Regions from separate parts of the Homo sapiens genome. Here all the other regions are linked to region 1. Evidence: promoter capture Hi-C in 16 types of primary human blood cells and fetal thymus (Javierre and others, 2016). All regions are on one chromosome and are shown on one strand. The core of a region is centred on a gene start or on the middle of the fragment in contact, and the rest is flanking DNA. Distances in the headings are between cores, read along the strand shown. Region 1 holds the start of CHMP1B (charged multivesicular body protein 1B). Region 2 overlaps VAPA (VAMP associated protein A). Region 3 overlaps FAM210A (family with sequence similarity 210 member A). Region 4 holds the start of SEH1L (SEH1 like nucleoporin).

What was found. Contacts are between HindIII fragments. The CHiCAGO score rates a contact against its expected background, and 5 or more counts as called.
Region 2: a contact is called between a fragment that was not itself captured here and the fragment with the promoter of CHMP1B in region 1, in 2 of 17 cell types (non-activated CD4 T cells and naive CD4 T cells). The highest score is 6.6, in non-activated CD4 T cells.
Region 3: a contact is called between a fragment that was not itself captured here and the fragment with the promoter of CHMP1B in region 1, in 1 of 17 cell types (naive CD4 T cells). The highest score is 5.4, in naive CD4 T cells.
Region 4: a contact is called between a fragment that was not itself captured here and the fragment with the promoter of CHMP1B in region 1, in 1 of 17 cell types (non-activated CD4 T cells). The highest score is 5.2, in non-activated CD4 T cells.

The regions. Positions count from the first base shown.
Region 1 is chr18:11,846,774-11,854,550 of GRCh38, forward strand. CHMP1B (charged multivesicular body protein 1B) reads left to right here and starts at 4,640. Exons shown (of 1, transcript NM_020412.5): 1 at 4,640-7,671. The coding sequence starts at 4,739. The coding sequence ends at 5,338. The region is part of intron 5 of GNAL (G protein subunit alpha L); the gene reads left to right. RefSeq lists enhancers at 4,493-4,732, 5,001-5,050 and a silencer at 5,057-5,351. The HindIII fragment of the contact is 8,099 bases long and covers 1-6,515 here.
Region 2 is chr18:9,914,468-9,922,244 of GRCh38, forward strand. All of the region lies in intron 1 of VAPA (VAMP associated protein A), which reads left to right. Among named protein-coding and RNA genes, the nearest start is that of VAPA, 4.3 kb to the left of the region's middle. RefSeq lists a silencer at 1-533 and an enhancer at 51-668. The HindIII fragment of the contact is 5,213 bases long and covers 1,295-6,507 here.
Region 3 is chr18:13,717,342-13,725,118 of GRCh38, forward strand. The region is part of intron 1 of FAM210A (family with sequence similarity 210 member A); the gene reads right to left. Among named protein-coding and RNA genes, the nearest start is that of FAM210A, 5.3 kb to the right of the region's middle. The HindIII fragment of the contact is 1,840 bases long and covers 4,745-6,584 here.
Region 4 is chr18:12,943,050-12,950,826 of GRCh38, forward strand. It overlaps SEH1L (SEH1 like nucleoporin), which reads left to right and starts at 4,962. Exons shown (of 9, transcript NM_001013437.2): 1 at 4,962-5,183. The coding sequence starts at 5,073. RefSeq lists silencers at 4,660-5,109, 5,150-5,499, 5,510-5,609 and an enhancer at 5,541-6,142. The HindIII fragment of the contact is 1,374 bases long and covers 1,592-2,965 here.

The DNA.
Region 1 (7,777 bases), core at 3,390-5,889:
GGAGTGCAGTGGGGCCATCATAGCCCACTGCAACCTCAAACTCCTGGGCCGCCTCATCCTCCCAAAGTGTTGTGATTACAGGCATCGGCCATCACACCCAGCCCTGGACAGTGACTTTGAAATTTCCCAAGGCTTGAGGAGTCTCAGCGTTTTTAATTCTAGCTGTGTTCCCAAATAAAAAGGTGATGCAGAGGAAAATATATATATACATACATTTAATACATGTGTAATAAATTAATATTATATATGTATGTAATGTATAATATATATATACATATATGTAATGTATTCCTCAAAATGGTCACCAAGTGAATATGTATCCAATGCCATTTCCTTTGGCTACATTCATATATTCCTACATTCAACAGAAATTTATTGGGTATCTGTTTTCCAGAGGTTGAATAGTACCAGGTATAGGTAGTCAACCAGAGGTCACCATGCCACACCTAATAGGAAAGCCTGCTGCTCAGCAAACACAAATATATGCAAAAAATGCAAACTGTGATAAGTAGGAGGAGCCCTTAGTTTGAGATATAACATTTCAAAATCACCAGAAACATACTGATGAGAATCCAGAAATAGTTTAACTCACAAGAGAAAGTTATTTTTCACATCTTTTATTTTCTTTTTTTTTTTTTTGAGTGACTTCAGACTTAGCAAATGATTCTTTTCCAGTGAAGTAAAACTGAATGTCCTGCTTAAATATTTTCATTTTAACCACTTGTATTATTTCAAAGTAAGGAAAGAAATCAGCCAGATGTGCCAAATGATAGCATATTTTTCTTCCCCATTTCATGATAAAAATAATTAACTGGTTTGACCCGCAGCTTTCTAGAAATGTCTGCACTTTAATCAAAAATTTCTTTTTTTTTCACTAAGAAAATTTGGCTATGGGACTTGCAAGGTTTCAATGTTAACGTGGTAGTTGCTAAACAATTCCAGTCATTATAAACTGTATGTTCTGTTTTCACATCTGTATTGGGTCCAAAACATTTTCACGTACAATTAGCATGGTTGTAGGACCAAAACCTCCTTTAATAATAATCCCAAAATAATCTTCCTTTTGCTAGATACACAAAAAGAGAAAGCATACCAAGCTGAAACAGACCCTGAAGGTTGTCAACCTCAATGGAATATAAAGAATGGAAAAAACTTAGAGCCAGGGTAGATGCAGATTCAGATACCACGGTGGTCAGAGATAATTCTTCCAAATCCAACTCGAATGACAAGGTAGATGGAGGTGCCAGTAGTAAATGGGAATGAGCAGATTTGGGGGAAAGGACTGAGTTCAGTCACTTTGAGGAGTTGCCAATCAGTCTTGGGCCACAGAGCGCCCAGCACCAAGGAGACAGCTGGGCATATGGGTTTGGAGCTCAGAAGCAAATCTCTCCGTGGAAATGTGAACATGAGAGCAGTTAGCTATGGATCCTATTGAACACCGTGGAAATGGCTGGGGTGTTGATAAGAGAAAGAAGAGGGCAGGGCTGGGGAACTGTCAGGGAGAGGAGGAGAACAGCCTTCTCTTCAGAATTCTAGTCAGCCCTGGTCTCTCTGGGAAGATGGCTTCTGGAACTCCACCTATACCTTCTCTCCAGCACAGAAAGTAGAGGTGTCATCATCCAAGGAATGTAGCTTCAGGTGATGGCAACTTCTTTTAGCAACCATACTTTTTCTTTTTTTTTCTTTTCTTTTTTTTTTTTTGAGAAGGAGTCTCTCTCTGTCACCCAGGCTGTAGTGCACTGGCGTGATCTCAGCTCACTGCAACCTCCACCTTTCCAGTTCAAGCGATTCTCCTGTCTCAGCCTTCCAAGTGGCTGGGATTACAGGCATGCACCACCACACCCAGCTAATTTTTGTATTTTTAGTAGAGACGGGCTTTCCCCATGTTGGCCAGGCTGGTCTTGAACCCCTGGCCTCAAGCGATCCACCCACCTCAGCCCCCCAAAGTGCTAGGATTACATTCCTGAGCCACCATGCCCAGTCAACAACCACACTTTATAAAGTTCATATTAACTTTGCAGTCAATGCAACTCTGTCTTCTCAAAAAAACAGCTGGAAAGTCAACTTCTTTCTTTAGGCTACATGATGATCATTATTTTATTCTTATTAATTCATGTTCATTGGATTCCCCATTGCCTTATTACTGGTCCCAATACATCCATGGAATCCGGTTTCTAACACTTACCTAATGTGTGGGTTCAGGCAAGTTTCTTAGCTCTCTGTGCTTCCTTTTCATTACCTGTGAACTGGAGACATTTATAGTATCTACTTCATAGGGTTTGCGAAGCTGAAATGAGTTAATTTATGTAAAGTGCCCAGAACAATGTCTGGTGCATAAGTACTTTATTAATGTTAGTTGTCATTATCATCATCATCTATCGGAGTCTCTCATGATTATATTCCAAACCATCTCACCTAGTCAGAATTTGTCATTAAGAAAACTATGGGCTGGGCACGGTGGCCCACGCCTATAATCCCAGCACTTTGGAATGCCAAGGTGGGCAGATCAACTGAGGTCAGGAGTTCGAGGCCAGCCTGACCAACATGGCGAAACCCCAGCTGTACTGAAAATACAAAAATTAGCCGGTAGTGCTGGCGTGTGCCTGTAATCTCAGCTACTCGGGAGACTGAGGCAGGAGAATCGCGTGAACCCAGAAGGGGGAGGCTGCAGTGAGCCAAGATCACACTACTGCACTCCAGCCTGAGTGACAAAGCAAGATTTCATCTCAAAAAAAAAAAAAAAAAAAAGAAAGAAAAGAAAAAAGAAAACTATGGAGCATGACATGGAAGCTGGATAAGAAACTTGTTTGCAAACTCCAAGAAAAACCAGGACCTAAAAGAAGGGAAGAGTGGAATGGAGGGTGAGCAGAGTAGGGGGCCTAAGCTCTCTATATCCACTTTGAACAGATTTCTTCCCCTTTTTTTTGGTTGTTTATATTCCATTTCTAGAAAAGTTTCATTTGGAAAAAGGGTTCTACTGCTTTGCGGGGCAAAAAGGAACCATAGCTAAGCTGCTAACTAGGGTAACATCCTATCCCCTCTGAAATACAATTAAATTCAGCAACGCCATCTGGATTCAGTGGCTGCTGTGTGCAGAGCGCCTGCTGGGCTCCATGGAGAGGGGAAGGAATCAGTGTCTGCATCCAAGTAGTTCACACTGTAACAGGTGACCTATACACACAGACCCCTTGCCAGGCAATGTGCCCTGTAGTATGGCCACACAGAGGAGGAGTCCTGGGGAGGCTCCATGGTGAAGGTGGCTTTTGAAGGACTGGCAGGGTGTCAATAGGCAGAGATGCATGGACACTAAAATCCAGGCAACAGGAACAGCATAGCCACAGGACCGGGCGTCAGTCACATTCTCCCCGCTGGCCGAATGACGCAAATAATGCTCAAATTCCATGCTGCGGTTTGCTTTGACTGGCGGAGGTGGAGGGGCGCGAAAGACGAGCCAGCATGCTGCACAGCAGGTTTAGCCTCCATGCCCGGGGTTTGGAGCAAGAGAGTGAAAACATCAGAGCTATGTCTTCAGAAGGTCTTGTGTTGTGAAACTGACTGGCAAGCTATCACAGGAAGCTAAGCGAGGTGGCAGGCTGCTAGATTAAAATGATCTCTAAACAGAATTCGCTCTCAGAGTTCATTTTCAGCCTACCTCATTAGGGCAGATTTGGTCTTCTCACATTGTTATTGCTGTATCGGAGGAATCTTTCTAAAGAGAAAAGTGACAGCACACATTGCTGCCATTTGAAAGCCAGCATTTTTAAAGGGCGTAATACATAGTGACAGTTTTGATGTATGCCCGTGGGTGTGGGTCCTGATATCTCAACATACTCTGCCTGCATAATTTAAAATGACAGTTTAGCCTGTCAAACTTAAATGTGAGTGAAGTTCCTTGGATATTTATAAAACATCAAAAAGACAGAATGGTGTCAGCAAAAGATGGGTCTTTTTATTACTAAACCACGGGACGATTTTTGGATAATTGCTGGCAACTCACCTAGAAGCTGAACTTCCAGACAAAGTATAAATTTGGTGGTGCCACAGTTTTGAAGATTATTTTCACTCAATGCAATAAAAGGATATTACAGAACTCTAGCACAAATTGTAGTCAAAGATGGAGACGCGTCAATGACCCGTTTGTTTTTAATGTGTTTTAATGTTTTTGTTTTTAATGTATCCATGGTTTCCAGTTCCCCTGAGAAAGTGGAAATTACCCATGCTAATAAAGCAAGCGTTAGTGCGAAGACCTAGCTGATGTTTGGCTGGTTTTTAGCCCGCTAGCCAGTCACCCTTTATAAAGCCTGCCAAGTTTGGAGCGTGGGTAATTTTACACGCGGGTCTCCACAGATCCTGTCTACTTCGGTAGATTTATTACTAGGAAAGTGCGTGGGGGCACTAATTTTTGTGAATTGACTAATGCGTTAGAATTTTAAAAACCGGGTAGAACGCAGCGCAGGAAGCGAGCGTTCCCCGCCGCAGCGCCGGAGCGTCCAGCCAGAATCCCCCTGCATGCGCAGCCCCTGGCGTCTTACGTCCCACAGGCCCCACCCCGGCGCCTTCCGTCCCGCAGGCTCCGCCTTTGGCGCTGGGCTCTGACGTCACCACCTGCGCCGCTCACAGTAGAAACAGGAAGTGGGACCAAAACAAAGGAGCGGCGGCCGGGAGCGGACTTACCTTACCTTCTCTGCCTTCGGCGCGCTTCTCAGCCGGGCCGCCGACCCAAAGGAGCCGTCCGACTATGTCTAACATGGAGAAACACCTGTTCAACCTGAAGTTCGCGGCCAAAGAACTGAGTAGGAGTGCCAAAAAATGCGATAAGGAGGAAAAGGCCGAAAAGGCCAAAATTAAAAAGGCCATTCAGAAGGGCAACATGGAAGTTGCGAGGATACACGCCGAAAATGCCATCCGCCAGAAGAACCAGGCGGTGAATTTCTTGAGAATGAGTGCGCGAGTCGATGCAGTGGCTGCCAGGGTCCAGACGGCGGTGACGATGGGCAAGGTGACCAAGTCGATGGCTGGTGTGGTTAAGTCGATGGATGCGACATTGAAGACCATGAATCTGGAGAAGATTTCTGCTTTGATGGACAAATTCGAGCACCAGTTTGAGACTCTGGACGTCCAGACGCAGCAAATGGAAGACACGATGAGCAGCACGACGACGCTCACCACTCCCCAGAACCAAGTGGATATGCTGCTCCAGGAAATGGCAGATGAGGCGGGCCTCGACCTCAACATGGAGCTGCCGCAGGGCCAGACCGGCTCCGTGGGCACGAGCGTGGCTTCGGCGGAGCAGGATGAACTGTCTCAGAGACTGGCCCGCCTTCGGGATCAAGTGTGACGGCAGAACCCGCTCTGAGGTTTCCTGGCCATAGCCACCCTTTGAAATGCTCTCTGTGTGTTAGAGAGATACTATACCCTAGAAACTCTGAACACGCCAGAATGCTGAAATGCCCTTCTACCTTTGGGTTTACAGCCCCCTCCACATAAATTAAGAAATTCAGTATTTCTGCACTCTTAGCTGGATTCTAAAGTTCTGTATAGCTCGTAATGATGGTATTTTTATAGCAGCCTTTTAACAGAACTAGTTAATTTCGTGTATATGAATCTTTCTCGAAGATCTGGTCAAAACTGTATTCAGTTTCCTGCCCAGAATGATCAGATTGAAGGTGGTTGGTTTTTATTATTATTTAGTGTGATTGATAGTATCTAGAATGGCAGGTGGTGCATAAAAGTTAAAGAGAGGGGAAAGATTACTTAGTTTGGTTATACAGTTATAAACACCATGCAGTGTATTCGGTGGACTGTGCTATTTCTGTTTATCCTTTGGGTTTTGGTTTTTGTTTTTTTTTTTTTTGCCTTCACAGTGAGACTGCAAATGATTGTTCTCATAACGTATATTATTAATAAATGTGGTCCTATAATTTATACTGAAATTACCTTAGGATATTTTTGCATAATACTCTCTTACTGCTTACATTCTATAAATTTTTCACGTGATAATTGTCTTTGCGTAACTGGGAAAAATGCCGAATAACTTCCTTTATTATCTGGAAAAATTAAATTTGTTCATTTATATTTTCTACTTACTAAATTGAGTTTTTAAAAAGACTTAGTGTGACATTTGACAGTGTCTTTCAAACGAACTTCTCTAACAAGTTTATAGTTATTTTCCTGTTTCAACACTATTAGAAGTCTTATAAATTATGCTAATTAGCATGGCAGTCATGTTACACACTCTTAACATTGCCAAAGAACTGTTGATTTCGTTTGAGAAAACCCTAGGACTGTGTGTGTGTAGGTTTTGTTTTGATTTTAACAACCAAAAATAGAAATAAAATTAGAACTGCGTTTTAAGTTCTAATTTGCATTTATTAATTTGTCCAAAAGCAAGAACTCTTGGAAATCCTTGAAAATATAAGCTGGAATGTTTTACTTAGCCATGCAAGTCATTTATGTATACATCCAGCCAGCTGGAAATCTGAGAAGTAAAGAGGTAGGACTGGAAGGAAGGAGAAAGCTTGAGTCTTTAAGGCTAGAGCCCAGCTGTGCTGCCTGCCATCTTCTCAGGAATGGCAGTGCGTATTTTCTGGCTGAAAAGTAAAGCATGTATCCACCGCTTTCTCATAGCCTCGAAACATGGAGAAAAGCAACTTGCTTTTGCCTTGGCAAGCATGCTAACCTAAGTTAATTCAAGTTTTTTTTAACTTACCCTTTCCTTCACTGGAAGATTTTTCCATAAGAGAATTCCATTGTTTCAGAAAATAATTATAGGGGCCCTTCCAAGTTCTTTGAAAGATTCATAACCAACTATTCACTATTATAACATGTTTCCCAGTGTAAATGAGTAAGGAAAAAAAAAGTGTAACAGGTGCGTGCAGATGAGGAGTGACCCTCATATTTAAGTTATTTTATATTTGACTGGACATTGTTCAGAAGTGTGCTTTAAGGGACACTTGTTAGTTGTCTGCCCAGCATCTCTCAAGAATATCCCTCCTGTCCTCCACATGGTTGTGCAGGGCCATGTGTGAAGACAGCATGAGTCTTAACCCCTCTTTTATTTTATTTTTGAGACAGAGTCTCGCTCTGTTGCCCAGGCTGGAGTGCTGTGGCGCGATCTCTGCTCACTGCAACCTCCACCTCCCGGGTTCAAGTGATTCTCCTGCCTCAGCCTGCCGAGTAGCTGGAATTACAGGTGTGCACCACCATGCCCAGCTAGTTTTTTTGTATTTTTAGTAGAGACAGGGTTTCACTATGTTGGCCAGGCTGGTCTTGAACTCCTGACCTCAGGTGATCCGCCCACCTCAGCCTCCCAAAGTGCTGGGATTACAGGCATGAGCCACTGCACCTGGCCTTAACCCCTCTTTAGATTGGAAAAAATAATTACAACTTTAAAAATAGCTTAGTGTTGAACCCTTTGGTAAACTAAAGACCCTTTTATAATGCACATATTCCCAACAAAATTAATATATTTTGTGAGATTAAACAATGCTTGTATATGCTTGAACTTTCTTAAAATATGTCCATGTCATACTATTATGAATGTACATTTTTATGAGTCATAAATATTATTTTCAAAAGCACTACAGGCCCATGAATTACTTCCTCACTTTTGCAGTTGATTACTGAAATGTAAATCACAAGAATTTGTCAATTAAATCATTTTAAACTGCATGTTATTGGATGTGAGTGTGCATCCTGTTTTAAAAAACACTTAAGAAAAAAGAATTGCGGGGCACAGTGGCTCACGCCTGTAATCCCAGCACTTTGGGAGGCTGAG
Region 2 (7,777 bases), core at 2,651-5,150, 1.9 Mb before region 1:
CTTTCCCGGCTGCTTTCTTGCCGCCACCTCGGCCGGCCTGCCCCTTGCTCCGGCCCGCTTCATCCCCTCCCGCCCGCCCTCGCTGCGGTGCGCGCGCCGGCCGGGGCGAGGCGGAGGGGAGCCCGGCCCTGGCGCCGCCGCCGCCGCCATCTTGCGGTCCCGCGGGGGCGCCTCCTGGGCGTCCGGTCCCGCCCGCGCCGCGGTCCGCCTGGGCCCGCGTCCTTGGCCCCAGAGGCCGACGGCGTGCTTCGGCGGGGCGTGGGCGGCTGGGCACCCGAGGGCGTGCGCTCTGGGCTGCGGCGGGGAGTGGGCTCTGGAGGTGGCGCAAGCTGCGTCTGTCGCCCGCTCCCGGCTGTCAGCGGCGCGGGGAGGCTAGGGCACGGCGCGGGACCCCTTGGGAGTGAGAGCCGCCCCCCGACCCCTGCCCCGGCCCGGGGAGAGCTCGCTGCAGCCGGCCCTCGGGTTCCGCGGAGGGCGTCGCTTGTCACCTTTCCGCCAGGTTTAGAACTCGGCCGTCAGGTGTAGGACGCGCCGGGGAGGTGGAGAGTCCTTGGAGGTGCCTGGCGAGGGCTGCCCGGTGCTGTTGGCACGGACCCAGGTGCGTGCGGGCAGGAGCGATGCGTCAGCCGCAAACGGAGAGTTGTAGGTTCATAGTAGCGGGGCTTCCTGCCTTCTACGACATTTCAGTGTGCCACCCGCGTGCTTTTATTTAGCCCTTTAGTTGAGCTCCTCTGCTGAGAAACCTTCAGTGCGTGTGACTTTTTTGCTTTTACGTTTGCGGTTTCCGACAGATCCTGAGAAGGCTGATAAGGTGTCACCCAGCTCTGGAACTTTGTAGGTTTTTGTAGTACTGCCTGTGATAAGTTTTTTAGTCTGACTTGGTGATCCTGGAAGAATCCCAGGGGCTTTTGGTCGGTTTCCTTGTCAATATGTAGTGTACTTTAGGAAAGAGAGTTAAAATGTACAGATTTTTATTTTTTTTCTTTGTTTTTAAGGAATACTGAAAGAGTGTGAACATCTAATAGAAAGTAGGTTCCTTCCTATCTTTAGTTAAGTGTAAAGTGAGTCCCGTTTTGGAAGTCTATGTCTTGTATTTCAATTGTTGAATGAGAACAATTTTTGTGAGGTGTATAGCAATTCTAGTGCTAAAAGAAAAAATTAAATCCTTTATTGTTGTGTAAGGCTGAGTCCAAGAGAAAGCCAACTACATTGTTTTCCATAGGAAAAACTTCAGGTTTAGGAATTTAAAATATATTCTGGAATTATGAGATTAATATTGCATAACTACATTGCAAGCTTTTTAGTGCGTTTACAAATTTCTTTGAATAGAAGTGTAAGTGAGCTACTTGTTGGGTAAGGATTTGGTTTTAAGGTGCAGTGAATGTATTTTATTGCAAGTTTATGTAAGTTGTGTGATTTTTACGTAGTTGTAGCTGGGGGAAAACCTTTGAGGAATTATGAAGAGTCCTGACTCAGCCATTATCTTGAGATAATTTAATGTAAATCTGTATGGTGTGTTTTTTTTTAATATTTCGTTTTTATCTTTTGATTGGCTGTGTTTACAGTGAACATTTCCTCTACTGGATAACTATGTGTAAATTGCCATTAGGGATTTATAAGCCTTTACAACCAGTTTTAGGCCAGGAAATGTCCACAGAGTTTGAAGTTTTCTCCTTAGGGAAGTTGTTATGTTGCTATAGTAAGGGAGTAATAATAGTGGAGAAGCAAGTTTAAAAAACAAGCAAAAGCCCTACACAGTGACTTACTCATATATTTCCTTTTTTGGGGGTGTTGGAGAATTACAGCTATGATTATAGAACTCATTGTTTTTGTGTTGCCAGTAAAAATAAGACTAGCCAGGGAAGCAGAAAAGGTGTGTAGATGGTATAACAGAGACACAACCGTGTCTGAGGAAAGAAGCCCTTTCTCTATGTGCCCCATCCCTCCCTTAGGAAGCATTTAAGGAAAAGGCTTGTTTTTCATTTCAGGGGAGGTTTAGGCCAAGAGAGTGGTTGAGTAAACACACTGCTGTGAGAGAATGCCTGGTACTTAAATGCCCAATAGTTTGTTGTGTGTTTCAGTTTAAAGATGGAGATGATGGGGAGGATTGGGAGGTGACATTTGGTGTTTGATTCCTTAATATTATCGTTTTAGTCAAAGGTAAATTGTTGGCTTTGATGGAAACCTTTGTGTATTTAAATGCACAGTTCAACACTGAGGAGATTCATTTAGAATGTACAGTCTACTTGGGCTTAGTTTATGATAGAAAAAAATCATTTAACTGACTTACCCTAAGTCATTCAAAACTTTCTAAGTGAAGGACTTTTAGAAGACAGTTTTGCAAAATTCTTTGTCATCTTCTAGTAGGTTTATTTTAGTTATTGATTCTGAGTTTGAGATGGTTTCTCCAGGAGTGACTCAGGTAATCATTCTGAGATTGGATGGTTTTTCTTTTATACACCTAACAAGCATCTTGAAGATGAATTAACAGTATGTTGCACAATTTTGCAAAAGCAGACACCAACTATTTCAGTACATTTTTCTGTATACCTCAGTATTTAAAAAAAAGTTTGTTTTATACAGTCGTTAACATATAAAAGTGCATTTACGATGTAATGAATTCTGAAGTAGATCACTTGTGTTAGTAAAGAAAAAGAAGTAGACGCTGCTTTACTTCAAATTCTGTTTAAACCTTGGAAGTAATTTTACCTAGATTTCAGATTTGAAACTTGGTATTTTATGTGAAAGATTTTTTTTGTCTTTAAAATTTTTTACATGATAAAATTCCATTTATAATGTATTACACATTTTATTTTTCTACCTATTAGCAGTTTTTTTAAATTTTTTTATTTTTTGAGACGGAGTCTTGCTCTGTTGCAGTGGCTCGATCTCGGCTCATTGCAGTCTCTGCCTCCCGGGTTCAAGCAATTCTCCTGCCTCAGTCTCCAGAGTAGCTGGAACTACAGGCATGCACTACCATGCCCAGCTAATTTTGAATTTTTTGTAGAGACGGGATTTTGCCAGGCTGGCCTCGAACTTCTGACCTCAGGTGATCCGCCTGCCTTGGCCTCCCAAAGTGCTGGGATTACAGGCGTGAGCCACCGCACCTGACCCCTATTAGCAGTTTTGTAGAAAAGTTTGAAGAAGAAAGTTTATAAAATGCTAAAATAAATTTCAAATATATTCTTAATGATCAGAGAGAGACGAAAATAAACCAAAATCCTTATGTTGAGAGTGGCCGATAACAATAAATCAACAAAGAAAATTAAGCTCTCTGAGGGATCGAGGGACGTATGGTGTTAACATCAGCTAGTGCATCTGCATAGAAGCAGCACGGGGCGGGGGGGAAATTAGAGAATACTCCTCTGGATGGATATTTAGCACATTTTTAGGTGTTTCCAGTCGGCTCTTCATGTTTCCCAGTGGCTATACAAAACGCCTGGGGCTCTAAAGACATGAATGTAATCTTTAATCATATATTACTCCATTCCTTAGTTTTTAGGTAACTCTCAATTGCTCACAGAATAAAAGTCAGATTTTTTTTTTTCAGTAAGACATACCATCTCTTCCATGATGTGCCTTCCTCTTGTAACACCTGTTAGTCTGTACACATCCATACTTTCTTCCCTGAGAAAGAAAAACCCTGCTCATACCCAAGGTTCTTTGTTCCTCTATTTTTGCTGGCTAAGGTAAAATTCCTTATGACTCAGACCATGTTCCATGAGATGTTTTCCTGCTGGTTTTCAATCACTGGCTGCATTGTTTTAACATATAAATACACCAGAGTCTTTGATTTTAAAAACAAATGAGCAGACATGTACTTCTTTGACCATAACTCTTTCTAGTATGTGTCTCTCCCTGTCCTTCATTTCCTTTGCATTCAGACTTTTTGGAAAAATAGTCCATATTCACTGTTTTTCCAGTTACTCACCTTTTATTCTCTCCTTAGTCCACGGTACTTTTATCCTCTCACTACTTATTGCTAACTTAATCATTTCCAGTTTTTATCTTACTTGACCTCCCCCTGGCTCTTGACAGTACCGACAGTTTCTCTAAAAAAAACCCTCAATTCTTCTGGCTTCTATAACAGCATTGTCTTCTAATTTTCTTATTTGCTCCATTTATTGTCTTATTTGTGGCATTTTCCTCAAATGCTCATGTTTCTGAGATTCTGATTTGGTTTCATTTATCTCACTCTGTGAACTTTCTTTGTTCATTTCATTGTTTTGAGGTTTTCTCTTTATCTTCCTTGCTCTCTGCAGGTATTGCTACACCCCCAAGTCTGTTTTAATTCACATTTTACCGTCAGTCAAGAGCACATACTCAAACAACTTATTCACTATTTAGATTTGAATATTGCACAGATATGATATTCTAAACTCAAAATATCTCAAAATTTTTACTACCCATGCCTACTCTTCTTCCCATATTTTTTATTTTTATTTTTGAGATGGGGTCTTGCTCAGTTGCTCAACCTGGAGTGCAGTGGCATGCACGTTCTTGGCTCACTGCAGCCGTGACCTCCTGGGCTCAAGTGATCCTCCTGAATAGCTAGGACTATAGGTGCATGCTACCATGCCCAGCTAATTTTTTACGTACATATGGGGGTGCCGCTGTGTTGCCCAGGCTGATCTCGAACTCCTGACCTTGCGTGATCCTCCTGCCTTGGCCTCCTAAAGTGCTGGGATTACAGGCCTGAGCCATTGCACTTGGCTTTATTTTTATTTTTTAGTGGCATCATGATTACTCACACCAGAAACAATATGCATATCTAATAATTAAAATCTGTGTTTCTATTTTTGACATAATCCCTTTGTCCACTTCAATGTGTTTCTACTTCCAAATTCATTTATTTTTAAAATTCATTCAATTATGGATCTAATTTGATTAGATTTGAGTATCTGCTACATGTCAGGTATGATGAATAAATATTGGAACTACAGTTGTGAGTGAAACACAAGCCATGTTTTCATGGGGCAGTTCTAACAAGAGAGATAGATACTAATAAAATAATCAGAAGAATAAAGTGTACCCCTGAAGAGCTATATAGTGCTACGAGAATGTAAAATAAGGGTCTTCGATCAGGCTGTCACAGTTGAACTAAGATTCCAACAATGAGTAAAAGTTATCCTGGTGAAGAAGAAAGGAAAATGCATGTTCAAATATCCGGTAGCAGGAGGGACTGTGAAACATTTACCATACTGAAAGAGGTCGGCGTGGCAGTGGTGAAAATAGTCAAGATGAATGTAGTGCTGGTTTAGTAGGTCAAGTTAGGAGTTTTGTTTTTATCCTGAGCCACTAGGGTTTTTAAGTGAGGGGAGGAGCAGTAAAGATGGAGGGAATCGAATAACATCACATTTGCATTTAAAAATAATTCTGGTAGCAATGTAAAATTATACTAGAGGGGAGAAAGAGATGAATTAGGCGGCTGCAGCAGTACTGGCAAGTGGTGACCCCTTGGACTGAGGTCATGGTATTGGAGGTGATGAAAAGTTAGGTTGAATCTGTGAGACTTGGTGGTCTCTATGTGCACTGAGAGAAAAGGGTATGAATGTCTGAGATTTCTGCTTATATAACTGGGGAAATGGTGGTGCTATTTGAGAAACGGTGGATGTCTGGATGAGGACGAAATGCATCTTATTTGGGGGTGTGTGAGAGAGATGGAGGAGGAGGACGTATGGTAGATATGTTTAGGTCTTTCAGGATATTAACATGAAGGTGGATTTGGTTAAATGGGTGTGTTACTTAAGAAAAGGTCTGGGCTTTGGATAATTTCCTTACTTCAGGTCCTTTTATATTTACTAGTCAGCAGACATCTCCTTTTCTTTTCTTTCTTTCTTTCATTTTTTTCTTGAGATGGAGTCTCGCTTTGTCACCCATGGTGGTGTGCAGTGGCGCTATCTCGGCTCACTGCAACCTCTGCCTCCCGAGTTCAAGCGATGCTCCTGCCTCAGCCTCCCAAGTAGCTGGGATTACAGGCGTGCACCACCATGCCTGGCTAATTTTTGTATTTTTAGTAGAGACGGGGTTTTGCCCTGTGGGCCAGGCTGGTCTCCCTGACCTCAAGTGATCCACCTGCCTCTGCCTCCCAAAGTGTTGGGATGACAGGCGTGAGCCACTGTGCCCAGCCTCCTTTATTGTCAGCTCTTTACCCTGTCCTCCACACTGCTGCTGGAACTACGCTTTGGAAAAAGGAGGCTGTTACTGTTAGTCCCTTGATTGAAGAACTCTAAATGTTTTCTTACTATGTACTTGAAAAATCCAAAATCCACTGCCTAACTCTCCAGCCTCAGTGTCTATTCTTTTTCTTCTGTCCATAACTTTGGCTATATGAAACCATTTTCCCAAACACTCCAGGCCACTGCAATGCTTTGCACAGGCTCTGCTTAGAATATTGTCCTCCCTCACGTCTGTCAGGCAGCCTCTTATTTCAAGAATCACTTCCTCTTGAGAAGTCGTTGATACTCTACCAGTCCAAGTTGGTCAGAGCCTTCATGCCACTGTTGAAGCTTGTGCTTACCTGTAATAACAGTACTTTCACATTAGATAGTAGTTAGGCTTACATATTCTCCCCTCCCAAACTATACTATGAACTCTGAGTATATACCTGTTAATGTTTGTAGTAACAAGTTCTGGCATCATAAAATGATTGCCCAGTAAGTGTTGATTGAATTAATAAGACTCAGATGATTTCTCCAGTAATTTTTATTTTTTGGTCTTGGATCTTGACTCAGTTGGAGTTTTCACCTGCTTTTGCAGGTAATAGTGCTTTCAAAATTTTGTACTTCCAGAAAAGGGGTGGTAGGCTATTTTGTAAAGAGCTGACTAACCCTAAAGGTAGGTTGTTTGATGTTTGTGTTTTTTTCATTTGTAAAGTAAGAGGTTAGGACTAGGTGATTTCTTGGGTGTTCTGTCTTTAAAAGTTTGTGTGAATATATGACAATTGAGTACAAAAAGAAAATGCTATTTTTCTGTGAAGCAGAAAAATGCATATAAAGAATAGGGAAAACTATACTTTTAATCCTTTAAAAAGATTTCATTGTGTATATTTGAGGTATACATATAACATGATGTTATGGGATACATATAGATAGTAAAATGGTTACTATAGTGAAGCAAATTGACATATGCATCATCTCAACATAGTTTCTTTTTATCTTACCTTTACTGACCATTTAGTGAAATCTTATTTGCCTTTCAGAGGTGGAAGTTGATACAGGATGGATCTTGCTCTCTTTTGATCATAAAGTTAGTTTTGGAAAAAAATTAAATGTGCGAGAGGACTGTTAACTTGCAAATGCTTGTTTACTGGTTTAATTCATTTTATAACTGAAATGTGACTCAAATTAGTTTTAAATTAGTAAGTTTTAAACGTTTGAAAACTTTCAAACATGAGCACCTTATAATATGAACCTCAGTATGCGTTAATTTAGTAAATTAAATTTAAATATAAATTTAATAATTGACATTTTACTATAATCATACGTGTTTATTTATATATTTTTGTTTGCCTCCATGTTTGTATTTTTTTGCAGCGGTCTCACTCTGACACCAGACTGAAGTGCAGTGGTGCTGTTATAGCTCACTGCAGCCTTGAACTCCAGGGCCCAAGCGATCCTTCTGAGTAACTAGGACTACAGGTGCATGCCACTGTGCCCAGCTAATTATTATATGTTTTATTTTTTGTAGAGACAGTCTTGCTATTTTGCCCAGCCAGATCTTGAACTCCTGGCCTCAAGCGATCCTCCTGCCTCAGCCTCCCAAAGTGCTGGAATTA
Region 3 (7,777 bases), core at 4,415-6,914, 1.9 Mb after region 1:
TCTGTTGCCCAGGCTAGTCTCGAACTCCTGGGCTCAAGTGATCTTCCCACCCTAGCCTCCCAAAGTGCTGGGATTACAGGTGTGACCCACTGTGCCCAGCCCAAGTCTAAGTTTTGAACTTCACCACTGCACCGCTAACTACAAAGCAGGGTTTGCAGAATTACTCGAATTCTAAAGCACTTTGGACTTACGTTGGTCAGCTGCATGACAGACTGTGAAAAGAAAGGAAAAATACAGAATGTTTAGAAATCTACTATCAAAAGTCTGCCAAAAAAATAAAGTACAGAGAAGTGAATAAGAGGAAGATACATTTTGAATTATGGATTAGAGAGCAAAAAGCATACTCCAGTGAGTCATTTGGTAACATAAAGGTTAATCAACTTGCATGAAAACTGCAAGGGCCCAATGCACCAGAATGTCAGGTTTAAAAAGCAGTCTAACAGGCTCGAGAAAAGACTTATGGTATAGTAGACTAAATGGTAGAAAAGATGGAAAGGACTTCATCTTAGCAGACTGGAGACAGAGTTTTCTGCTGGCCTCAAGGAAACAAGGTACCGTATGATGAACTGCCTACGGACAGGGCCGCATACGGGGAACAGCCTCTAGTCCCTGAGGGAAGCCACCAGTCAACAGGAAGAAGACAGCGCCCTCACTCATATAGGCACAAAAGATGAACTCTGCCTACAACCTCAATGAGTTTGCAAACAGATTCTTCCACAGTTGAACCTCCAGATGAGAATGCAGCCTGCTTGACACTTTGAGATGCTAAGCAGCAAACCAGCTAAGATGTGCCCATACTCCTGACCCAGAAAAACTGTGAGACAATAAACCTGTGTTGTTTTAAGTTGCTAAATGTGGGGGTAATTTGTTACACAGCAACAGAAAATACAAGCCTACTCTCCTTAAGAAACCTTCCCACTGCATGAGTAAGGATTATTTTTACCTTCTCAAAGTCTTTGTTACAGGGACTACAAAAATGGAAGGCCACACAGAACCTGAGTACAACTGTATAAAAGCAGCAACCTTAGGTTTAGTCATAGTTGTCTGCATTAGAACTACAGAATGTTAAGAGTTGGAAGGAAACTGAGAGGCCCCTTAGTATCATCCTTTATGTTTACAGATAAAGAATGCAAGGACATGTAATAGTTCATAACTTGTTCCTGATCACATAGCTGATTAAAGGCCAAAAAAAAAAGAAAAAAGAACTGCTAATCTAGTGAATTTCCCACATCTTCACAAATTGCTCATATGTATAAATTGTGTCTTTTCCCTGAAAATAAAGGATTGAGAGCCAAACTATATAAATTTCATTTCTATCTTCTATCATGAAAATCAGTTTTAACATAAATTTATTGTTACTAGTTAACTAAAACATGCTTAGCAATAGGAATTTACTTGATGAATAAGGACTATGTTTGTTAAACCAAAAAAAGACATATGAGAAATTATACATATATTTTACACCAAGTAAATCGCAATAGAACCTGTTTCAGCTTGGCTTTGGTGAAAAATACTAGTAACCTTCTCTGTGGGGTTAACTAGTTTTGTCAGTGTTTACTGTATCAAGCATATTTCAGAAAATGTCATTTGATCATCAGAGTACCAGAAGCCATTGTTGCAATAAAGAGCTCTTGTATTCTGGGTCCAATTTTAAAATATCTTTTTAAAAACTTGCATTTACAGTGATGAAGATGGCAAGAAAAGTAAAATAAAAATTTGCATTTAGAACTTGACATAGGTCTGCTTTATTTTATAAAGTGTGCCACACAAATAAAATTTTTCTTAACATTATATATGACATTCATTTGGCAAACACTACATTGCAAACCCATCACTGTTTATCTAATTCCTCTAATTTTAAGAAATGAGTCAAATTACAATGCAGCTTAACTAGAACAAGAATTGCAGTATTTCAGATAGCAAGGAAGAGTTACTATAATTCATGCTTACATTAAAAATCAAGAAATCCAAATAAAATACCACGTTTAATTCAATTTATCACGTCCAAGAAGTTACAAAGGCAATGTAGAAGAAGTAAGTAAAAATGGGGAAGCCCTAATTTTTAAGTCTGCCTTGAAAACAATTTTTTCTTATCAATGAGACTTTCTAATAGGACTCATCTTGCCATTGGCACCCACAAAATCTAACCACCCACCTCCACTTCTCCGGGAGGATCCCTTCCTAATGTCTGATGCCTCTTCCCTCACCTCCATTCTTTGCCCACTGCTGCACATGCTTAAAGCCCAGCCACCCTTTCACCCACAGAGGTCATAGACCACTGCTACTATGGTTAATTCTCAGAAGTAATAAACTCAGAACCTGAAAGCACATAATGCCTACAAGACTGTTCACTATTTCAAACTTCTGCTCTGGTTTACATGAATTAAAAAAAAAAAAAATCACTCTATTTTTTCTGCTGTACCAAGGCAAAAAAATTCTACAATCACATTTAAAGGCATGGACTAATGACTTCACAAGACATTGCAGTAGCAGTTTCAGTTGTGTTAAGAGAAGCTAAAAATTAGCAGGTTCTGTGCTAAGCACTGTATCATCTCATTTATTCTATAAAATCGCTCCATGAGGAAATCAAAACACAAAGTTTGGCCACTTACTCAAGGATGACATGCTTAGTAAATATAACATAACCAGGATTTGAACACATGCCATCTGCTTGTGCTCTTAACTGCTGAAATATTCTAGTCATTTTTCTAGTCAGGTTGCATAACTTGGTGGCCCACGGTTAAGCGTAGAGTTTCTATTAAGCCCAGTAGCAAGCCCAAAAGCTGTTTCTTAAAAGAGCAGTTACCTGCAAAGGATGGAAAGGCTTTGCTCCAAAATCCTAAGGTTCTACACTGTATCTCCTATAGGGCCTGCAAAAGGTTCCTAACAGCATTTCAATCTGCCACTGACATTTCAAGCACCAGAAGATCTGCTGGGTCATATGGCCTGAGTGGCAGAGCAGTTTGCACAGCAGCCTGTACCTGTTGTAGAGGCGCCTTTTGTTCTGGGATCCACTCAAAACTAGCAGTATTTTAGGTCACTCAGTAAACAACCTGAAGTAGCACACCCAAATGAGGAATTTGTCATCTCCAAAATCCAAAGAGGCCCACTAAACCTTGCTTCTCTTTTTGTTATAGGTGGGAACATGCCCTACACTACTCCAGTGGACCCCTAGAAATTTCACAGGTGGAAGGCCCCTGAATATTTGTTGGATTTCCCACCCTCTGACATGCAAATGTCATACCAGTAAGTCTAGAGTAGTTGTTTCTTCTTGCCCACCAGGTCCAATCAGCATAATGTCATCAATGTGATGGGCCAGTATGATGTTTTGTGGAAGGGAAGCACAATCAGGGTCTCTATTTGTTTGCTACAGCTGCTGTAATAGAGAACCACAAACTGAGGAGCTTACAAAACAGAAATGTACTGTCTCCAGCTCTGGGGTTAGAAGTCCAAGATCAAGGTGTCAGTAGGGTTTGTTCCTTCAAAGGGGGTGAAGAAGAATCTGTTTCATGCCTACCCCCTTGCTCCTGATGGTTTGCTGGAAATGTGTGACATTTCTTGGTGTTCCTCTACTTCAGTTTCATATGGCATTCTCCCTGTGTGAATGTCTGTGTTCAAATTCCTCCTGTTTATAAGGACACCAGTTGTGTTGGATTAGGGGCCCAGCCTACTCCAGTATGACCTCATCTTATCTAATTACATTTTTAACTACCCTATTCCCAAATAAGGTCATACCCTGAGGTACTAAGGGCTAGGAATCCAATACATAAATTTTTAGAAGACACAATTCAACTCATAACAAGATCACAGAGATCTTGTTATGACATAGTGTTGGAAAGTTGACATTCCCGAGGTAGGACAGTGAAGGTGTATTTTTGGCTTTGTTAGTTGAAAGAAAACTGCTTTTGGTGATCTTTACTAACAGATACTAAGACAAAGCACTCAGCAGATCAATAACTGCATGCCAGTTACTAGGGGATAGGTTCTCAAGTAATGAAATGACATCTGGAACAGCAGCTGCAATTAGTCACTACTCAGTTAAGTTTATGATAATCCACTGTCATTTTCCAAGATCAATCTGTTTTCTGCACAGGCCAAACAGGAGGGTTGAATGCGAATATGTCAGGAATCATCACCCCTGCATCCTTAAGTGCACTCATCTCTGCAATTCCTCCTGGAATGCGGTATTGCTTTTGGCTTACTATTATTCCAGGAAGAGGCAGCTCTAGTGGCTTCTACTTGGCCTTTCCTACCACGATCGCCCTCACTCCACAAGTCGGGGAACCAGTGTGGGGATTCTGCCAGTTGCTGAGTATGTCTATACCAGTTATGCATCCTGGAACTGGCAAAGTAACCATAGGATGAATATGGGGACCCACTGTGAGGAGAACCTGGGTTAAACTTCCATTGACCACCTAACCTCAACAAGTCCCTACTCTGAATGGCGGGCCAAAATGACACTTTGAGTGTCCTGGAATTAGTGTCAGTTCAGACTTAAGAGTTCAGTAATCTGTGAGAAGTCTAATTATTTCCTCTTCTCCAGTGCACACTTACCCTGATAAGCCATAGGTCCCTTTGGGAAACCTGAGAAAAAAATTAACGGTATAAATTCTTAGCAGCGCAATGGGGTCCTTCCTCAAAAGGATCCAGCCTCCCCTCAGTCAGGGGGTTCTGAGTCTGTAAAATGACTCAAATCTGGGAACTGATTGAGGGACCATGACTCTTTCTTTGGTAATTAAAGTAAAGCTTCCATTCACTTGACCTAGAACTCTTCTGCTTATAGAGATCAAGTCAGAATTCAGTAGACTGCCCAACGAGTTCTCTTCTAGGGACACCATGACCACCTACCCAATTAGGACCCCCAAGTCAGGCTGTTCAGATTGTTGCTTTGACTCCGCTGTCCCCCATGATGGCAACACACCTACTTACTCTTTGGTGATCACATAGCCCCTGCCATCCTAGATCCAACCATCCCTGCTGCAGCTAAGGACCCCCAGTCAGTGGCAACAGCTCCCACTGCAATCTCTGACCTGAAGAGAAAAGCAACCCCAGAGCTCTTCACGGATTCCTGAGGAAAACCGGCAATGTCTTGCAAGGTAACTACCTCAAGGGAGGTCATTACAGGTTCTTCAGGCAAAGCAGAGTTAACCTCCTCAGAGGTGGAAGAACTGCTTCTACTGGCAAAAAAGAGTGAGTCAAATTTAGGAGTTTAACATCCCCAGCTTCATCAGGATGTTCCCATATGGCCCTATTCCAAATGTGCAGATCCCATTCCTTCCCAATCAATGCCCTCATTTTAATAGCAGACCAAGGTGAGAAGGGAATTCAGTTAGCACTGTAATTCAGCCACCTACAGGATAAGACTCTGGATTTGGTTTTCACCAACCTCAGCTCTGTAGCTACAAGAGATACGGGTTTCTTTAGGGCAGACACAGAAACTTTTCAGGTCACTTATGTGGAGCTTCAATCGGGAATTTGAAGCCTTAAGCTCCCCTTTTCTTTCCTTTCTTTTTTTTTTTTTTGAGACAGTCTCACTCTGTCACTCAGGTTGGAGTGCAGTGGTGCAATCTCGGCTCACTGCAACCTCCGCCTCCTGGGTTCAAGCGATTCTCCTGCCTCAGCCTCCTGAGTAGCTGGGATCATCCTTTTCTTTTCTCACTTTACCCAGTACAGTTAAAAGCAACCAGCCTATCTTATTGTACTCATTAATTCGATTAAAATGTTCTAAGGTATCAAATACCTGATCATTCTGAATCTTGTCTATAAGCATGAGTGGGAGTATCTAATAGTGATCTTTTGCATATCTTTGTTGCCATATCACACCAGGGACTATCAGTGCCCTCTTTTCTACAGGGAATACTCATTACTGCCTTTGAATCTGATCAGTTTGGAAAACCAATTCCAGAAACACTATAATCAATTCAGAAAACTCATCCTTAAGATTCTGCTCACTAGAAGCACTCTCAGCACCCAAATTTGAATCAGTCAGGGCTCTACAGAGATACAGAACTGATAGGAAAAAATATATAGATGTAGATAAAAACATAAATATCTTCATCTACATATAGACAGATACAGAGATATTGGTATTTTAAGGAACTGGCTCACACAACTGTAGGGGATAGCAACTTCAAAATGTGTAGGGTAGATCTACAGACAGGAAACTTAGGCAGGAATTGATGCTGCAGTCTTGAGGAAAATACTGTCTTCTTCAGGACACTTCAGTTTTGGCTTTTTTAGCCTTCAATTGATTGAATGAGGTCCACCCACATTATTTAGGGTAATATCCTTTAGTTTAGGTCAACTGATTATAGATGTTAACCACGTCTTCAGAATACCATCATAGCATCAACCAAACTAGTATCTGATTAAATAACTAGGTATTATAGCCTAGCTAAGCTGACATAATAAAACTAATCATCACACACAGTATTACTCAACAAAATCTTATTTTCAACTGAAGGAAAAACCTTTTAAACAATAATATTTTATTTGTTCCAGAAAGACAATGAAATTTCAGTAGGAACACTTTCCTGAGTGGAACAGAGGAAAAGTCCTTCATCCAAAACTATTTGGAGGAACAAAGCTTCCATGAACCACCTCTCTTCACAGAACACTATCTTAGGAAACTATAACATTGTTTCTACATTTTTAAAACAATCTCTATGTTTCAAAAATATGATCTTCAACTCTACAACAGAAATCACACTTTAAAATTATACCTCTGAGAGAAGTACTCTCACTTTCTTACAAATGGGTTGAAATAAATCCTGCAGGTCCTTTCCTTGTCTTGGTGGAGCTCACATTCCAGCAAGATAACATCCTTATCTAACTATTTTCTCTCGGGACATCATAACCCAGGCATTAAGAAGTATCAAAACACTTTCTGAAAAATCTACTATTTGCTAGGCAACGTCCAGTTCTGAGTATGATCTTCTAGCCAGCACTGTTTCATTATTAGCAGAGTCTGGTCAATCAGCCAGACTGCCTGGGTCCAAATCTTGATCCCACTACTTAACAAGCTGCATGATCTTGGCCAAGTTACTTAACCCTCATCTGTAAAACAAACACTCATAACTATACCACTGGGTTCGGTTAGAATTAAACGAGTGCAAATGAATAAAGCACTAACCTTGGCACCTAAAAGGTACTCGAGTATTAGCTATTATTATTTTAATGTCCAGAAAACCAGAGATTACTCAGGCAATAATGAGGGAAAAATAACACCAATGGTAACTTTAAAATCATTTTTATCTGGCTCATTTACTTACATTAACTGCTTTCAAGAATCCTTCCCCTCTATTCTCAAATGAATTTACACAACTTCTAGTTAAGTTTTATAAAAACTGAAAAATGTAATCTCTATATATCCCATCATCGTGGAGTTTTCATAAACACATAGTTAAGAGGCTTTTAATCTAATAACTTTTTTTGTTTTGTTTAGTTTTTTTTGAGACAGTCTCGCTCTGTCGCCCAGGCTAGAGTGCAACGGCGCAATCTCGGCTCACTGCAACCTCCGCCTTCCGGGTTTAAGCGATTCTCCTGCCTCAGCCTCCTGAGTAGCTGGGATTACAGGCACGCGCCACCACGCCTGGCTAATTTTTGTATTTTTAGTAGAGACGGGGTTTCACCATGTTGGCCAGGCTGGTCTCAAACTCCTGACCTCGTGATCCAACCGCCTCGGCCTCCCAACGGCTGGGATTACAGAAGTGAGCCACTGCACCCGGTGTTTAAAAACATTAAAACATGTTTTTAAAAGTCAAAATTACACTCATTT
Region 4 (7,777 bases), core at 1,029-3,528, 1.1 Mb after region 1:
CCCCTAATAAGTCAATAAATATAATCCCCTAATAAATCCCCCAAAATATAATCCCCTAATAAATCATCCAAAACTGACCAACTGGATTTGTCTGCCTCTTTCTTTGGTTTCTCAGCTCCTTCGGCAGTTGGGGGTCGCTTTGTATATATTAATACGACCCTTTCACGGAACACAACTGATTGCAGATGTTAATCCCATCTACAAGATACCTTTATAGCAACATCTAGACTAGTGTTTGAGCAAAGAACTGGGCTTCATAGCCTAACCATGGTGACACATAAAATTAATCATCACACCAACCTATGCTGTTAGGAAGGAGGTCGGTAGTTACTGCTTGGGGAGGGGTGTAAAGACCAGAAGGGACCACAGGAGAGCTTTAAGGGTGTGAGTCATGCTCCCTTTTTCGAGGTGATGATGGCTGCACAGATGTGTTCAGTTTGTGAAAATCCAGTGAGCTGTGTACACTTGTGATACGTGTACATTTTGGAATCTATATTATACTTCATTAAAAAGCAAAATGTTAAGGACAAAGGCAGTAAGACAAAAAGCAATGGAAATAAGAAAAAAAGCCTTACATCAGATATGGAGACTTTAGAAATTGCAAGACATTAACATATATAACTCTATATTAATAAGTTTAAATATTTCAGTGAAATGGCTGATTATTTATTTATTTGAGACAGTGTCTCACTCTGTCGCCCAGGCTGGAGTGCAGTGGCACGATTTCAGCTCACTGCAACCTCTGCCTCCTGGGCTCAAGTGATCCTCTTCCTGCCTCAGCCTCTTGAGTAGCTGAAATACAGGCGTGCACCACCACACCTGGCTAATTTGTTTTCTGTAGAGACGAGGGCTCACTATGTTGCCCAGGCTGGTCTTGAACTCCTGAGCTCAAGCAATGCTTCTACTTCGGCCTCACAAAGTGCTGAGATTACAGGCATGAGCCACCATGCCCAGCACAAAATGGCTGATTTTTTAAAGGAAGATATAAATGATCAAAATTGTCTTGACAAAAGGTAAAAAATCTGAAGAGGCCATGAATAAAATAATTTTAAAAGGTAGTTAAAATTAACTATACCTATCATCACCCAAGGCATGAGGCTGATAAAATTTTGTGAACGTCATCTACAAAATCTTCACGGAATCTTCTACAAAATCTTCATAGGAATCTTTCAGTTCCTATGCTATTTAAACTGGCGCAGAGCAGGAAAAAAAATGTGAAAGCTTCTTAACTCATTGTAGGTTATTTATTTATTTATATTTTTGAGATGGAGTCTCGCTCTGTTGCCCAGGCTGGAGTGCAGCGGTGCAATCTCAGCTTACTGCAACCTCTGCCTCCAGGGTTAGAGCGATTCTCCTGCCTCAGCCTCCTGAGTAGCTGAGATTACAGGCGCTCACCAACACGCCCAGCTAATTTTTGTATTTTTAGTAGAAACGGGGTTTCACCATGTTGGCCAGGCTGGTCTTGAACTCCTGACCTCAAGTGATCTGCCCGCCTCAGCCTCCCAAAATGTTGGGATTACAGGTGTGAGCTGCCACGCCCAGCCTTCACTGTAGGTCGTATTCTTTCCAGAATATGAACTGGAAACCTCCAAGCTTGTTTTTCCAGACTCTTATTAGCTCTCTATTTCTAGTTAGGTTCTGAATTGAGAGACAGTAGGGGATTCAGATGCAGGAGGAAGAAGACCTTTTCTCCAATTTGTGGAGGCAGCTCACATAGCTGAGTAGTGGTGGTGGTGGCAATGGGTGAGCCTGGCTTCCTGCTCGGGGGTGATGTGAACAGCAGCAGTAGCAGCAGCACTCAGCCCTAGCTCCAGCAGTACTAGCAGAGGCTCCAGGAACCTCAGCTGTTCAGAGCTTGTGGGCTCCCATGGCTGTTACTCTGTTGGACGCCTGCAGTGTAAGCTGGAGTATTGGCTCCTGGCTTTCTGCCTGCTGGTGGTAAAGGTGCCAATGTCAGCAGCCTCAGAGTCAATGATGGTAGCACTGGGTAAAACTATTTTCCCTTTCACGCTCCCAGCCCAGAGTTTCCCGTAGTTACTAGTCTCTGGGTAATCTCACATGTTCCCTTTTTGCTCTTAATTAACCCCTTGGATATATATGTAACCAGTTTCCTGTGTTAAATTCTCTCTCTCTTTTTTTTTTTTTTTTGAGATAGTGTCTCCCTGCGTTGCCCAGGATGGAGTCCTGTGGCACAATCTCGGTTCCACCACCACTCCTGGGGCATTTTTTTGTATTTTTATTTTGTATTTTTAGTAGAGAAGCGGGTCTCGCCACGTTGCCCAGGCTGGTCTTGAACTCCTGAGCTCAGATAATCTGCCCGTCTCGGCCTCCCAAAGTGCTGGATTACAGGGTAATTTAGCCACCAGGCCTGGCTGACACGACCACTTTGGAAGACAGTTTGTAAGTTTCTTATAAAACCAGGCCAGGCACAGTGGCTCATGCCTGTAATCCAAGCACTTTGGGAGGCCAAGGCAAGAGGATCGCTTGAGCCCAAGAGTTTGAGACCAGCCTGCTCAACATGGTGAAACCCCATCTCTGCAAAAAACAGAAAAATTAGCTGGGTGTGGTGGCACTGTGCCTGTAGTCCCAGCTGCTCGGGAGGCTGAGGTGGGAGGATCATCTGAACCCAGGGAATTTAAAGCTGCAGTGAGCCACGATTGTCTGCCATGACAGAGTGAGACCCTGTCTCAAAAAACAAAACAAAACCCCAAAAAACAAAACTAAACTTACTCTTACAATATGATCCAGCAATCATGCTTCTTGGTATCTACCCAAAGGAGTTGCGAACATGTCCACACAAAAACCTGTACACAGATGTTTGTAGGAGCTTTATTGATAATTGCCCAAACACAGAAACAACCAGAATGCCCTTTAGTTGGGGAATGAATAAACACTGTTACAGCCTGACAATGGAATATTATTCAGCACTAAAAAGAAATGAACTCTCAAGACAAGACATGGAGAAAGCTTAAATGCATATTACTATAAGGAAAGAAGCCAATCTGAAAAGGCTAGCCACTCCAAGATTCCCATTATATGCCATTCTGGAAAAGTCAAAACCATGCAGTCAGTGGAAAGATCAGCGGTTGCCAGGTGTTGTCGGAAGAAAGGGATGAACAGGAGCACTAAGGATTTTCAGGGCAGTCAAACTATTCCGCGTGATACTATAATGGTGGATCCATGTCATTATATATTTGCCAAAACCCACAGAATAAAACACCAAGAGTGAACCCTAATGCAAACTCTGAATTTTGGGTGATAATGATGTGTCAATGTAGGTTCACTGATCATAACAAAGGTACCACTTTGGTATGGGATGTTGACAGTGGAGGATGCTGTGCATGTGTGACAGTAGGGGTACATACGGGAACTCTATTTTCTGCTCAATTTTGCTGTGAACCTGAAAGTGTTCTAAAAACTAAAGTCTATTTTAAAAAATCCACTGTTTCACCTAATTCAACACTTCACTCCCACTCTGATAATCTCTGGCAACCAATGATCTGTTTACTGTCTGTATTTAAATTTAATTAAAACAATTTTTAAACTGTTTTGATATTTTTATAATAATCAATATATTTTGATTGGACTTTTATAGTGAGCACTTTCTTTGGAAATGAGTGTCTTTGACCTTCAAAAAAGTTATAGTTGTTATCAGTTATCATAAGAGGTGGGGCCCACCTCTTAAAGTAGCAATAAAATCTTATTTATGGTTGAAAAAGGTCAGGTCATTGCGCCACTTCTCTTTGCAGGTTTCTGTGCAATCCATCAGGGGACAGCTGGGACTAATCATTTAAAAAACTTTCCAGCCTGCTAATTTTACCATACCTCACATTTTTGTCATTCCTGGCCAAAATCCAAAGGGCAAGTCCCTTCTGCAGCCTCATTTTTTTTTTTTCTGTACTTTCGCTCCCCTGACGCAAGCTTCCACTGTCTCCCATCCTAACTTTACCACTACGCCCTCTAGAATGCCTTTTCCTGATAAGCAAAACCCCCCGAGTCGTTGGCTCCTCCACTTTCCGGTTTTGGCAGAATCCTTGATCTGAGCCAGGCCTCTTCCCAGGGGCTCTGGCCCTCTTCACTTCCTTTTCCCCGGAGGACTCTGGCTCCCGGGTAGCAAGCAGCCCACTTCCCCGGCCGCTTCCTTCCCCCGGGATGACACGTTTCTACAGGCGGACTCTTCTAATTCATACTATTTCCCTACCCCCGTGGTGGCTCCTAGCACCCCCAGGCCTGTTCTACCTGTAAAATCTTGACACATTTAAACTACTACTTCTGATCCTTTCCTCCCCGTCCAGCCTTCGCTCTTAGGCTGCCGAGCCTGGACTGCTTGTCATCCCCTCAGGCGTCTCCCCGGCCCTCCCTGCTCTTCAGCCGTCCCGACGGAGCGCGGCTCCTGACCAAACCCACGGTTCGTCTTCTCCACCTGCTCCGCGCGCCTCGCATGTGTCTGGGGGGAAACACATCCAAACGTCGACTTAAATGATTCAGGGCCGAGGACCGTGAGAGGCAGTCTTCACTTTTTCATCTTTCTTCATTTGCACAGTATACCAATAAGCTCTTACTACTTCTCAGCACAGGTAACTCGCCTTTTGCAGAGCACCCTCCGCCGCCGAACGGTCAGAGCCTGGAGGAACCCGCACCAGGATCGTAGGGCATGACGGGCCGGGGGCGGGACGAGGATTGACGAGCCGGGAACAGGGCGGGGCTTGAGGGGGCGGGAGGGTGGGGCGAGGCATGACGGCTCTGGTGGGAGGGTAGGCGGGGCTTGACGGGCCTGGGGGCGGGGCGGGGCTTGAGGGACCGGAAGGTGGGGCGAGTCATGACGGGCCGGGGCGTGGGCAGGGCTTGAGGGGCCAGGGGACTGTGTGGGGCCTGACGGGCCGGTGGGTGGGGCGGGGCTTGAAGGACCGGAGGGTGTGTGGGCGGGGCTTGATAGGCAGGGGCGGTGCGGGGGCGTGGGCAGCACAAGCCGTGCGCTCCCGGGCTGCGAGGTCTGGCTAGGCTACGGGCCACGCGCCGCCGCCGCTGCCGCCGCCACTGTCCTCTTCGGAGGCGCGGGCCCGACGGAAACCATGTTTGTGGCTCGCAGCATCGCGGCGGACCACAAGGATCTCATCCACGATGTCTCTTTCGACTTCCACGGGCGGCGGATGGCAACCTGCTCCAGCGATCAGAGCGTTAAGGTGCGCGCGGCGCTTGCGGGCGGGGCCGACCCCGGAAGGAAGGAAGGGGAGTGGGTGGGCGGCGCGGGGAACGGGGCTGTGTCTTGGTTCAGTGACGCCGCTGGAAGCTGTGGGGTGGCGGGCGAGCCCTGGCTGGACTGAGCGGAAGCCCTCCCCGCCCGCGTATTGTGGGGTCACGGCGGCCTCGCGGGCCGCCCTCCCGTGCGCCTGCGCAGCTGGTGCCACGTGCGCGCTCCCGCCCGCAGGGTACGCCGGGCCCTCTCCCAGGCCGCGCTGCCGGGGCTGCGGGCGGGAACCCAGGGGCATCCCACCGTCAGCCTCGGCGTCGTGGGTCTTGCCCGCGCTGTTCACCCGACGACCTGCAGTGGGACCTGGTGGGAGACTTTGCCTGGCTGGCGCTGCGTCGAGTTCTGTGCCCCGCCGGTGTTCTCTCACCAGGGCACATGGTTTTCTCCGTGGGTTCAGAGCAGAAGCTCACTTTGTTACGCCGAGGAAGAAAAATACAAACCATTTACATCCAATGATTTCCCTGCTTGCTGCCCAGGAATCGGAGGGTTTGTTTCTTGAAGTTCCCGTAAACGTCTGTAGACACTTCCGACAAGCAGAATTTCTTTTCTTTTTTTTTTTTTTTTTTTGAGACCGAGTCTCACTCTGTCACCCAGGCTGGAGTGCAATGGCACGATCTCGGCTCACTGCAACGTCCGCCTCCCGCTTTCAGGCGATTATCCTGCCCCAGCCTCCCAAGTAGCAGGGATTACAGGTGCACGCCACCACCCCCGGCTAATCTTTTTTTTTTTTTGTATTTTTTAGTAGAGACAGAGTTTCACCATGTGGGCCAGGCTGGTCTCGAACTCCTGACCTCGTGATCCACCCGCCTCGGCGCCTCGGCCTCCCAAAGTGCTGGGATTACAGGCGTGAGCCACCGCGCCCGGCCTACAAGCAGAATTTCTAATGTGGGGATGCTACATGAGATTTAGGAACCTCCCAGATGTGTTGCAGGATGAATGAAAGCTGGAGTGCGGATTATTTGGTTCTCGACAACTCCAGAGTAACTGGAAATCTGAAGGATAGTTTATCCTTTTTCACATTCGAGTTTGATACCAGTGATCTCTCAAAGATAAACTTTTTATAAATAGTGTTGCAATTTTTAAAAGATGTAGTTTCTTTTTTAAAACAAGTTTATTTTTGTTGTAATAAACTACGTTAACCGTTTTTTTTTTTTTTTTTTTTTTTTTTTTGAGACGGAGTCTTGCTCTGTCACCCAGGCTGGAGTGGGGTGGCGCAATCTTGGCTCACTGCAAGCTCCGCCTCCCGGGTTCACGCCATTCTCCTGCCTCAGCCTCCCAAGTAGCTGGGACTACAGGCGCCCGCCACCACGCCCGGCTAATTTTTTGTATTTTTTAGTAGAGACAGGGTTTCACCATGTTAGCCAGGATGGTCTCTATCTCCTGACCTCGTGATCCGCCCACCTCGGCCTCCCAAAGTGCTAGGATTACGGGCGTGAGCCACCGCGCCCGGCCCACGTTAACCGTTTTAAAGTGTAGAATTCAGTGGCATAGAGCACAGCATTCACATTTTTGTGCAGCGTCGCCCCTGCCCATCTCCAGAACCTTTTCATCATCCTAAACTGAAACTCTGTACCCAAGAGCACCCTGTTCCGCCACCCCATCCTCTGGTAACCTCTATTCTACTGCTTTCTATTAATTTGCATATTCTAGGTACCTCAGATAAATAGAATCATAGAATATTCGCCCTTTTATATTTGGTTTATTTCACTTAGTATAATTTTTTTTTTCTTTTTTCTTTTTCCTTTTTTTTTGAGGCAGAGTCTGGCTCTGTCACCCAGGCTGGAGTGCAGTGGTGCGATCTTGGCTTGTTGCAGCCTCAACATCCCAGGTTCAAGCCATCCTCCCACCTTAGCCTCTCCAGTAGCTGGGACTACGAGTGCACGCCACCACGCCTGGCCAATTAAAACATTTTTTTTGTAGAGGCAGGGTCTTGCTGCGTTGCCCAGGCTAGTCTCGAACTCCTGAGCTCAAGTGATCCTCTCACCTCAGCCTCCCAGAGTGCTGGGATTACAGGTGTGAGTCACCTTGCCCAGCCCTCTTAGGTCCATTTATTCCAGAGTACTTTTTTTTTAAAGGAGGAGCCATGTATTTATTTGTATATATTTTTAATTGAGCAAGTAATATATTTTTCTTTTTAGAAAGTGAAAAAATTATAGACTTATTGCTAATGTGTTAATATTTATTGATTTCCTCTGTTTTTCCTTTAACGTTTTAAGTTGTCATGGTAGAGTGTGTGTATATACGTATATGTCTTGTCAGAAATAGTGTTGTACTGAAATTTTTCATTAGTTTAGCATTTTATGTATTTTGAATGATTTTCTTAGGCTAATTCTAGAAGATAAATTAGTGGATATTTTAAACACTATTGAAGAGAATTGACAAATTGCTATTTTGCAGGTCGTACCGTTTTATACCGCCAGTGATAGTATTGATTTGATAGTGTTATTGCCCTCGTTACATTTTTAACAGGTGAAATTGGCACCTTCTTATTGTAATCTATATTTTTTCTGGGTAATAAGGTTTAAT